Linked DNA regions of Homo sapiens: regions 1 and 2 are each linked to region 3. Evidence: promoter capture Hi-C in human tissues and cell types (Jung and others, 2019). All regions are on one chromosome and are shown on one strand. Each heading gives the region's core, a stretch centred on a gene start or on the middle of the fragment in contact. The rest is flanking DNA. Distances are from core to core; before and after follow the strand shown. Region 1 overlaps TCEA3 (transcription elongation factor A3). Region 2 overlaps KDM1A (lysine demethylase 1A). Region 3 holds the start of LUZP1 (leucine zipper protein 1).

Region 1 (3,153 bases), core at 213-2,712, 220 kb after region 3:
GGAAGCGCATCACTCCACACGGAAAGGTGCTTGGGAGAGAGCAGAAGCTTGCACAAACATCTCCGGATTCCAGAACTGGAATTCTCCAAGGGACTCCTCCGGAATGGCAAGGCTGACTGCATTTCTGCCCTGGCCACAGAATGCCGCAGGCAAGGTGCTCTTGATAAATGGTGTGTGCCGAACAGACGGAGAACTCTGAATAGAGTTCTAGAATGACTAGACACCAGTTAGAATCCAAGGATATTTGTGCTCTAAGGGCATACCATGTGCAACCCAGAAAGAGGAGGCCATTCTCTGGTTTTAAGAGAAGGGGCCTCCACAGCCTTCCCAAGTTCCCCATGCCAGGGCAATGGTCTTCAACTTTAGGACTCAGAGCTAAAGCCCTTAGGCTTTATTGACCAAGTTAGCTGGATTGCAGGCAGAATGGTGTGGATCTTGTTTATTACTACCTCTGACATTGGCCTCCTTTCTTGGGCAAGGCTAAAAAGCCCATCTGTGGCCTGTGTGGGCCTCAGTTTCCCTGGGTGTGTAATGAGGGAGCTGGGTTTCACATTGCCAAGTTCCCTTCCAACTGTCTATGACTCTTCAGCCGCCATGAGTCTGATTCTTCTTATTGTCACGTCAGGGCAGACCAGAACACACTGACCAAGCCTCGTAGACACATAGCAGGGATGATTCTAAACTCAGAGGAACATTGTCTAGAAGCCACAGGTGCACCACATTAGTGTACCAAGGCTTGCCCTTCTCTCTGCAGCCTGGAGAGTTTTTAAGGTTTTCTTTGTTTTGTTGAGTCAGGGTCTCATTCTGTCACCCAGGCTGGAGTGCAGTGGTGCAATCATAGCTCATTGCAGCCTCAATTCACTGTAGCCTCAACCTCCTGGGCTCCAGTGATTCTCCTGCCTCATCGCCACCCATTTCCCCCGCATCCAGTAGCTGGGACTACAGGCACACACTACCAAGCCTGGCTAATTTTTGTATTTTTAGCAGAGATGACGTTTCACCACGTTGCCCAGGCTGCTCTCAAACTCCTAGGCTCAAGCAATCTGCCTGCCTCGGCCTCCCAAAGTGCTGGGATTACAGGCGTGAGCCACTGAGCTGGCCCAGCCTAGAGAGGTTTTCTTTTTGTTGTTTGTTTGGTTTGAGACAGAGTCTCCCTCTGTCGCCCAGGCTGGAGTACAGTGGTGCAATCTCGGCTCACTGCAGCCTCCACCTCCCAGGTTCCAGTGATTCTCCTGCCTCAGCCTCCAGGGTAGCTGGGATTACAGGCACGTGCCACCATGCCTGGCTAATTTTTTTTTTCTTTCAGATGGAGTCTCACTCTGTCGCCCAAGCTGGAGTGCAGTGGCATGATCTCGGTTCACTGCAAGCTCCACCTCCCGGGTTCACGCCATTCTCCTGCCTCAGCCTCCTGAGTAGCTGGGACTACAGGTGCCCGCCACCACACCCTGCTAATTTTTTGAATTTTTAGCAGAGACGGGGTTTCACCGTGTTTGCCAGGATGGTCTCAATCTCCTGACCTCGTGATCCGCCCGTCTTGGCCTCCCAAAGTGCTGGGATTATAGGCGTGAGCCACCGCGCCCGGCATTTTTGTATTTTTAGTAGAGATGGGGTTTCACTGTGTTGGCCAGGCTGGTCTCAAACTCCTGGCCTCAGGTGATCCACTCGCCTTGGCCTCCCAAAGTGCTGTGATTACAGACATGAGCCACCGCACCCGGCAAAGCCTAGAGAGTTTTAACGCTTTCTCCCCTCTGGCTCTTCCCTAAGCTTCTCTCTGATTTTCCACCTCTATGCCCCTGCGGCCTCCTGCACCTCCGGCCCGTCCCCTCACTGTCCTTACCTGGTTATAGGTGCAGTTCTTCTTCTTGCATTTGCTGCACTGGAAGAGGTCAGTGGTGGTGCCGCCAGTCTTGGCCATCTGGTGCTCACGGATGGCCTCCTGGGTCATGGCATTCCTCAACTCCCTCAGTTCATCACTGGCCATTTCCTGGAGAAAAAAGAGTCTACCCTTCAGGGCTGAGGAGTTTCAGGGGCCCTGCCCTACACCCGGTTTCTAGAAAGCCTGAACAGAAAAGGAGGTAACATGCTTTATTGACTGCAAGGAGCTGGAAGGAGGCCTGGATTCCGGGTCCTGCCCCAGCTGGGAGAAAGCTGTCCCCGCAGAGTCCTCCTGCCGCCCACGGCTGGAAGGTCATAATGCACATTCAGGTGAGCAGCAGGCAAACAGCCTCTGCCCGAGGACGAGCACTCCTGTGTACATTTCTTCAGATCTGGGGCTCATCCTGCCTGCCAGGACCTTGGCCTTGGCCTGAACCTTCCTGCTTGAGCTGACTTGATCACTGCCACCTGGTCTATGATGTTCCCCTTAGCCTTCCTCTCTAGACTTGACCCAGTGCTCTTTTACGCTGTGATCACTGCCCTGCTGTTCTGCTTAGTGGGAACCTTGGCGCAACTACCCATGACTTGCTGCTGCTACCCCCATCCTGAAGCTCCTGGGCTCACACAACTAACTGTTCATCTGATGAGCATGCATCCAAGATCATCTTTTTCTGAGAGTTTCTACAGAAGAGTCTCCAGTCTCCCACCAGCTCACAGTAGACACTCCGGGTCTGCATCACCCACACCTTTGCTTTCTCTGTCCATCTCCCTGGCCACTTGTCTCCCCTTAAGCCTCTGCCAGAGGACAGCAGAGAGGGAGCTCCAGTTAAGGGTTGGTGGAAGGGGAAGGAGGGTGGCTGACGCGAATCTCAAAATGAGGATTTTAAACTTTTTTTTTTTTTTTTTGAGATGGAGTCTCGCTCTGTCACCAGGCTGAAGTGCAGTGGTGCGATCTCGGCTCACTGCAACCTCCACCTCCTGGGTTCAAGCGATTCTCCTGCCTCAGCCTCCCGAGTAGCTGGGACTACAGGCTCATGCCACCACACCCAGCTAATTTTTGTATTTTTAGTAGAGACGGGGTTTCACCATATTGGCCAGGATGGTCTCGATCTCCTGACCTTGTGATCCACCCACCTCATCCTTCCAAAGTGCTGGGATTACAGGTATGAACCACTATGCCTGGCTTAAACATTTTAATTGTTGCTGTCTGTCCTGAGTCCTTAAACCATGGAGAAGAATGCTGGCATAAAGGTCAAAGCATTTTAGTGTGCTCACCTT
Region 2 (3,086 bases), core at 28-2,527, 140 kb before region 3:
AGAAAAAACATACAGAAAGCCATATCCAAAGCACCAGACCTCTCAATGACAGTTCTGATTCAGAAATTGTTCTGGCTAAATGATGTGTTTACCACGTAGTTAGATACTTTCTGATAAAACTTCCACGGTGTGGATCGGTTTTGAGAAGTGCCTTTTCCTGGTGAACAAATGTAAAAATATATATAGGCCAGAAAATCTAGAAAGATTATGGGAGTCTATAGTTTTGGTTTCAGAGCTTCAAACAGCTTTAAAGAATTCTCACTAACATCCCCTCAATGCTGAGTACTAGCTTTCTGAGGATGGCTGGACCAATCAGGGATATCTGCCTTTCTGTTTTGGAGAGACCAAGCAAAAGCAGTATTTTAATGAATTTTTGTATCTTGTGCCCTTAATGACATTTTATTTACTCTTTTTGACTTTGAATTTTTACTAAGTTCCTCTTCTTGAAATAATTTTTATGTTTCGAATAGCTTCAGACCCACACACCTCTCTGGTTCTTTTAGTCCTGTACCTTTTAAAAACAAAATGGTGGTTTCAGACCCCATCTGCTATATCTTGCATGACTTTCGTAGGTACCCAGATTAAGACATACTTCATTTGAGATGTTTTATCTTTTGTTTTAGCCTTTTTTTTTTAAGGGTTTTCTCCCCTATGGTGTTACTGTGAATTACCAGAAGCAGTACTGATGCTTCACTTTAGGGCATTACCAGTCAAGTGTTAACTTAGGTTTGGAGCTTATCAAAGTCTGGCTAAAACTTAAAAATCAAATTTATAATTTATAGGATTGTAATAAAGTGTACTAAAGGAATACAGTTTGAGAACATTCAGAAAAAGATTCTGGTTTCAGTTCATTCAAAAGTCAGGGATTTTCTAAGAAGAGTGGTTTTCCTAAAACTTTCTTAAAATGATTTCTTGGGCAACTCCTTGTTTGAAGGTTTCTAGTTTCAGTAGTATATTACCTTTGGGGCTAATGTCCCAGGCAAATGTAGCTGCCTTTTTACTTTACACCTCTCGTTATTCATTTTTCTTCTTCCTCTTTCTAGTCTTATACATTTAGCTCTCTTCCTTCTGTTCTTACCTCCAACCTTTCCCTTCACCCTGTGCTCTTTTCTTCTGTGTTCTTTTTGGTTCTTACCTTTCTTCTACCTTTGCTGTAGACCTGCTAATGAGATACTTGGGGATAACCCTTTTAATGTCTGCGGTGGCTCAAGAGTGGGCTGACTTCTTAGTTCAAGGGCTCTAAGTACTACGCATTGATGATCTGATATCTCAGATGCTGCCTCACCTTTTTTGTGTGGTTGTGTCTCCAGTAAATAATTGATTTACCATAGGTTCCAAGTTGATAAACGTTTCTTTGAAAATTTTAAACCATGTGTTGGTGTTGCTGTTTGCTTTTTTCTGAAAGCTTTTTTTTTTTTTTAATTTCATAAACGTCAGGTATTGTTCCCACAAAAAGTAAACGTCTTAGCAAAAGGATTTAGGATTTGGGAGCTGTCTTTATTGTGTTGTAGTTAATTATAATGCAGTGGTTTAGTTTAAGTTATCTTTGTTTTTGGGGGGACGTTAAAATTTTAAGTTGAGGATATCTTCAATGCTTAGAAATGTGCTGATAACAGCCAGAACTTACTAATATATTATTTGTGGTTATGAAAATAGTGATTCTTCCTTTAAAACAACTTAATGTTTTTTTTGAAAATTTCTGGGGTGAATTAGGGATGTACTTTCCCTAGAAAAAAGTGTCAACTTACTAGCCTAAACTACTTATGTAGTTTAGCAATAGATTGGACCCTGATGGTGAATCATAAAATATTATCAGGTGAGTTAAATATTTGGACACTGTGCAGGGTTTCTAAGTCTTTTGTCTTTCACAAGAGTTTTTAGTCAAAAATTGAACGGAAGCATTGCTATATGACTATATTAAAAGCTTGAGAGAAGATATAGGTTTGTTTCGTTTTGATATTTTTGGAGACGGAGTCTCGCTCTGTCGCCCAGGCTGGAGTGCAGTGGCATGATCTCGGCTCACTGCAACCCCTGCCTCCCGGGTTAAGCAATTCTCCTGCCTCAGCCCCCTGAGTAGCTGATTACAGATGTGCGTCACCACGCCCAGCTAATTTTTGCATTTTTAGTAGAGACAGGGTTTCACCATGTTGGCCCACCTTGGCCTCCCAAAGTGCTGGGATTACAGGCATGAGCCACCATGCCTGGCCTGTGGGTTTGTTTCTCTACCAAACCTTTTCTTGTTCTCAGTCTTTTTAAAAGGCAATCACTAGAAATTATTCTGTCAAAAAATATAGGTTAGGGCCAGGCGCGGTGGCTCCCAGCACTTTGAGAGGCTGAGGCAAGCGGATCACCTGAGGTCAGGAGTTCGAGACCAGCATGGCCAACATAGTGAAACTCTGTCTCTACTAAAAATAGAAAAATTAGCCAGGTGTAGTGGCACGTGCCTGTAATCCCAGCTACTTGGGAGGCTGAGGCAGGAGAATTGCTTGAACCCGGGAGGCAGAGGTTGCAGTGATCTGAGATTGTGCCACTGCACTCCAGTCTTTGTGAGAGCAAGACTCCGCCTTAAAAAAAAATCCAAAAAACAAAACAAAACAAAAAAGTAAGGTTTGCATACATTTCATTCTTACCAACTTTTAAATTTGTTTAGAAATTTTTGCTTTGCTTTCTGCAGTGTGTTAATCTTAACAGGAAGTAAATATTTTGTTAATTATGAAAGCACAAGGTATTCTGAAGTCAGTGGGTCAAATTGACTGAATAAGGTTCCTCTGGGAGAGTACTGAGAGGAAGCCAGAATGGTGGGAGCCATATTGTGAATAGCCTTGGTTGACTAAGCCAGGCTAAGGAATTTGAGCATTAGGAGTGTCAGCGGTAGCCCTGAGGTTTTTTGAGCAAGGGGGGTTACACTGAAATATGTTTTTGGAAAGACCAATCTCATGCTAAGCGTGAACTAAAGGAGTAAAGAAGCTGAGATTGGAGAGATAATTTAGGCTATTGGTCAATGGAAAAATGTTCTTAATATCAAAGTTGAATTTTTATGGAAAGAAAAAGTTTGGGTGTTTTTGTCTGATTGCACTTATATAATT
Region 3 (2,967 bases), core at 447-2,946:
GACAGAAGGCAATCTGGAACACACCTTCCAGATTCCCCAAAAAGAAATGTCCTCCTAAAATCCAAACCCCTCCCTCCCTAATTTGAGGTAGTCAAATCTTATTAGGTGATCTGAATTCTCCCGGCTCTGACACCAGTCCAGCTCCTTAGGCCAGAACTGCAGCCGTCTGTAAAAGAAATACCCTGAGCAAACCCCACCCCTCAAAACATCCCCAAAAGGCAGGGAGGTCCAGAGAGTATTTTCTCCTCCAACGACAGATAAGGCACCAAGGGCTCAGCAGCGCAATCCTTCTCCCAAGGTCATTCAAGTCAGTGAAGGTGCGACGGTGGAGCTGCAGGCAGTCTGGCCTTCTGGAAATCACACTACAGGGGTTTTGGGGGTGCCTACTCTCTTCCCCTCTCCCACCCGCAAGGGTGAGCACTGGCCTCGGCATTCCCGAAACAAGCCACAACAAGCTCTGCAGTGTTAGGAAAGGGGTTGACGCGATGAAGAAACAGATGCTCCAAAGCAAGATGGTCTTTCTCGGCTCACAGAGGCTCCTCCAAGGTTATGCACAGAAACCGCAGCCACCTCCAAGAGCTCTAAACCGGGCTCCGAAGCCCCAGCGCGGCCGCTGCGGGTCGCCAGGTTCCCTGCAGGCAGGCTCCGCAGCCAGAGGCCACCAGCCCCAGAAACCGCACTTCATTCCTGCGCTCCGGGAAGCCATGGCTCCTTCCCTGCCCGGGCGGCTGGGCGGGGGCCGGGGGTGCGCCGGGAGGCGGGCCCCGCGCTGCGGAAAGTTCACCGCGGCGGGCGGGGGGAGGCCCCGGCCCCGCTCGCCGGCGTCCCCCTGCAGATTCCACCATTAATTAGTCCTAAGGACTGTCTACTGGCAACTTAAACAAAGCGAATGCCTCGAATTCCTTCCCGGCCCAGCGGTCTGGCTGCGAGACCAGCAGAGCGCCCGGGACGCGGGCCGGCGCGGCCGACAGCTGCGGCGGCCGCGGGACCCCTCCCCGCCCGGCCCGCGGCCCGCGCCCCGCGCCCGCAGCTGGCCCCGCACGCCGGCCCGACGCGCTCCCAAACCGCCCTCCTCCTCCTGCTGCTGCAGCTCCCGGGCCCTTCCTGTCTGATCACTTCCTTCCTCCGGTGCCCGCCGGGCCCCGCGCAGCCCCCTCCACGGCCGCCTCGTCGCCCCCCGCCCCTGTCGGCCCGCGCCCCCTCCCCCAACCCCAAACTCTACCCCCGAAACTCTTCGCCGCCCCCTCGAAAATGTCTCCTCCGCGTCTCTGCCCCAAACATTTCTCCTCAGAGTCTCGCTCCCACCAAGAAGTCTCCTCAGAACCTTCCCTCCCCCTCCCGAGGAAAAATCTCCTCAGAGTCTCTTCCTCCAACTCCACAAACATGTGCTGGGTCTCGCCCCAAAAGGTCTCCTCCTGAGCCCTTCCTCCAAAATCCATTCCAACTCTCCCCCAACTCCACACCCCATCTCTCCTCGGCTGCGCCCGCGGTTTCTTCTGCCCCGTGGCCGCGGGTGCCCCGACCTCACCCGGGACCGGCCTCCCAACCCCGCCGCCCTCCCCTCCCCGCGCCGCGCTCCCGCCGCCGCCGCCTCACGGACCCTCACCTCTGCGGCCCCGAACCGCGCTCCCGCCAGCGAAGGGTTCCGCCGCTCAGCTGCCAGCGACCGGCGCCTCCTCTGGCTCCGCGGGACTGACAATGAGGGGCGGGGCCAAATTGTGACGTCAGCGTTCTGGAAGGCGGGGTCTTTGTGATGGGCGGGGTTGTCTGTAGGCCCCGCCCCCTCCGTCCTTTTTTTCCCTTCCCAGGACTTAGACTCCACCAAGTTTTTATTGCCTCCGTAGCTGGGTCCTGTGCTAGGCGCCCTGGGAAATCGAAATGGAAGACAAGACTTCTCGATTTCAGGAGGGACACTTTCGGCCCGCGTGGTGGCTCAAGTCTGTAATCCCAGAACTTTGGGAGGCTGAGGCGGACGGATCGCTTAAACTCAGAAGTTCGAGACCAGCCTGGGCAACATGGCGAAACCCCATCTCTATAAAAAATACAAAAATTAGCCGGGAGTGGTGGCGCCCGCCGGTAAGCTAAAGTAGGAGGATCGCTTGAGCCGAGGGAGGTCGAGGCTGCAGTGAGCCGTGATCGTGCCACTGCACTCCGGCGTGGGTGACAGAGTGAGACCCTGTCTCAAAAGAAAAAGAAAAAAGCGGGACACTCTCAGTAGGGTTGTGAGGATTAAATGAGATAATCAATGGAAAGGTGCTTAGCCTAGAACCTGATATGGAATAATCACTCAACAAATCCTATTTCTATTACTCTGCAAATGCAGAGAAGGAACTCAGCTCAGACTCGGGAGGCATGGGTTCCCGTCCCCCACTGTGCTATTAATTCTTTGTGTGATGCTAGACAAGTACTTTCCCATCTATGTTCCCGATTTTCATCTTCTTTAAAATGGGAAGGGGGAATAACCAGATGATCTCAAAATCCCCTCCCATACTTCTATGACATACTTCCTTTAAGTCTACTATCTAAAAGGCACCTAGTGCCCTGAGAAGCCAGGAGGAAGGCTTCAAAGACAGCCCAAGACCCACACCCAGCATAGTACAGGACACAGCCAGAGACTGCTCTCGCTGCGGATGCCCTCCCACACGCTGGCACGCAGCAGCATTCACAAGCCAGGACACAGATGGGCTGAGGGCTGCTTCCTCTCTGACTACAGCAGCATGGTTGGTCTCTTGAGACATCTCTTGTGTAAGCTCTTTATTGCCTATGGAATAAAGGCCAAAGCCCTGGCCTGGTATGATCACTTCCTACCTTTACACACACACACACACACACACACACACAAAGTTTATCCAAACTTCTCTTAGCACACCCACTGCTTTCCCACATTTGACCCTTTGCTGAAGCTCTTCCCCTGCTGTCTCACCTCCCAGCTTCTCCCAGCCAGAAAGCAATCCTCCCTGTTCTGAA

The links. Contacts are between HindIII fragments. The study calls those that stand out against the background at their distance.
Region 1: a contact is called between a fragment that was not itself captured here and the fragment with the promoter of LUZP1 in region 3, in 1 of the 25 tissues and cell types used here (psoas muscle).
Region 2: a fragment that was not itself captured here is called in contact with the fragment with the promoter of LUZP1 in region 3 in 3 of the 25 tissues and cell types used here (dorsolateral prefrontal cortex, spleen and thymus).

What each region holds. Positions count from the first base shown.
Region 1 is chr1:23,385,436-23,388,588 of GRCh38, forward strand. It overlaps TCEA3 (transcription elongation factor A3), which reads right to left. Exons shown (of 11, transcript NM_003196.3): 9 at 1,838-1,984. Among named protein-coding and RNA genes, the nearest start is that of ZNF436, 17 kb to the left of the region's middle. The HindIII fragment of the contact is 6,654 bases long and covers 1-3,153 here.
Region 2 is chr1:23,030,953-23,034,038 of GRCh38, forward strand. All of the region lies in intron 2 of KDM1A (lysine demethylase 1A), which reads left to right. Among named protein-coding and RNA genes, the nearest start is that of MIR3115, 12 kb to the right of the region's middle. RefSeq lists an enhancer at 2,227-2,276. The HindIII fragment of the contact is 3,399 bases long and covers 1-2,977 here.
Region 3 is chr1:23,167,160-23,170,126 of GRCh38, forward strand. It overlaps LUZP1 (leucine zipper protein 1), which reads right to left and starts at 1,697. Exons shown (of 4, transcript NM_001395462.2): 1 at 1,607-1,697. RefSeq lists enhancers at 403-934, 935-1,466, 2,542-2,591 and silencers at 706-845, 1,837-1,896. The HindIII fragment of the contact is 15,099 bases long and covers 1,489-2,967 here.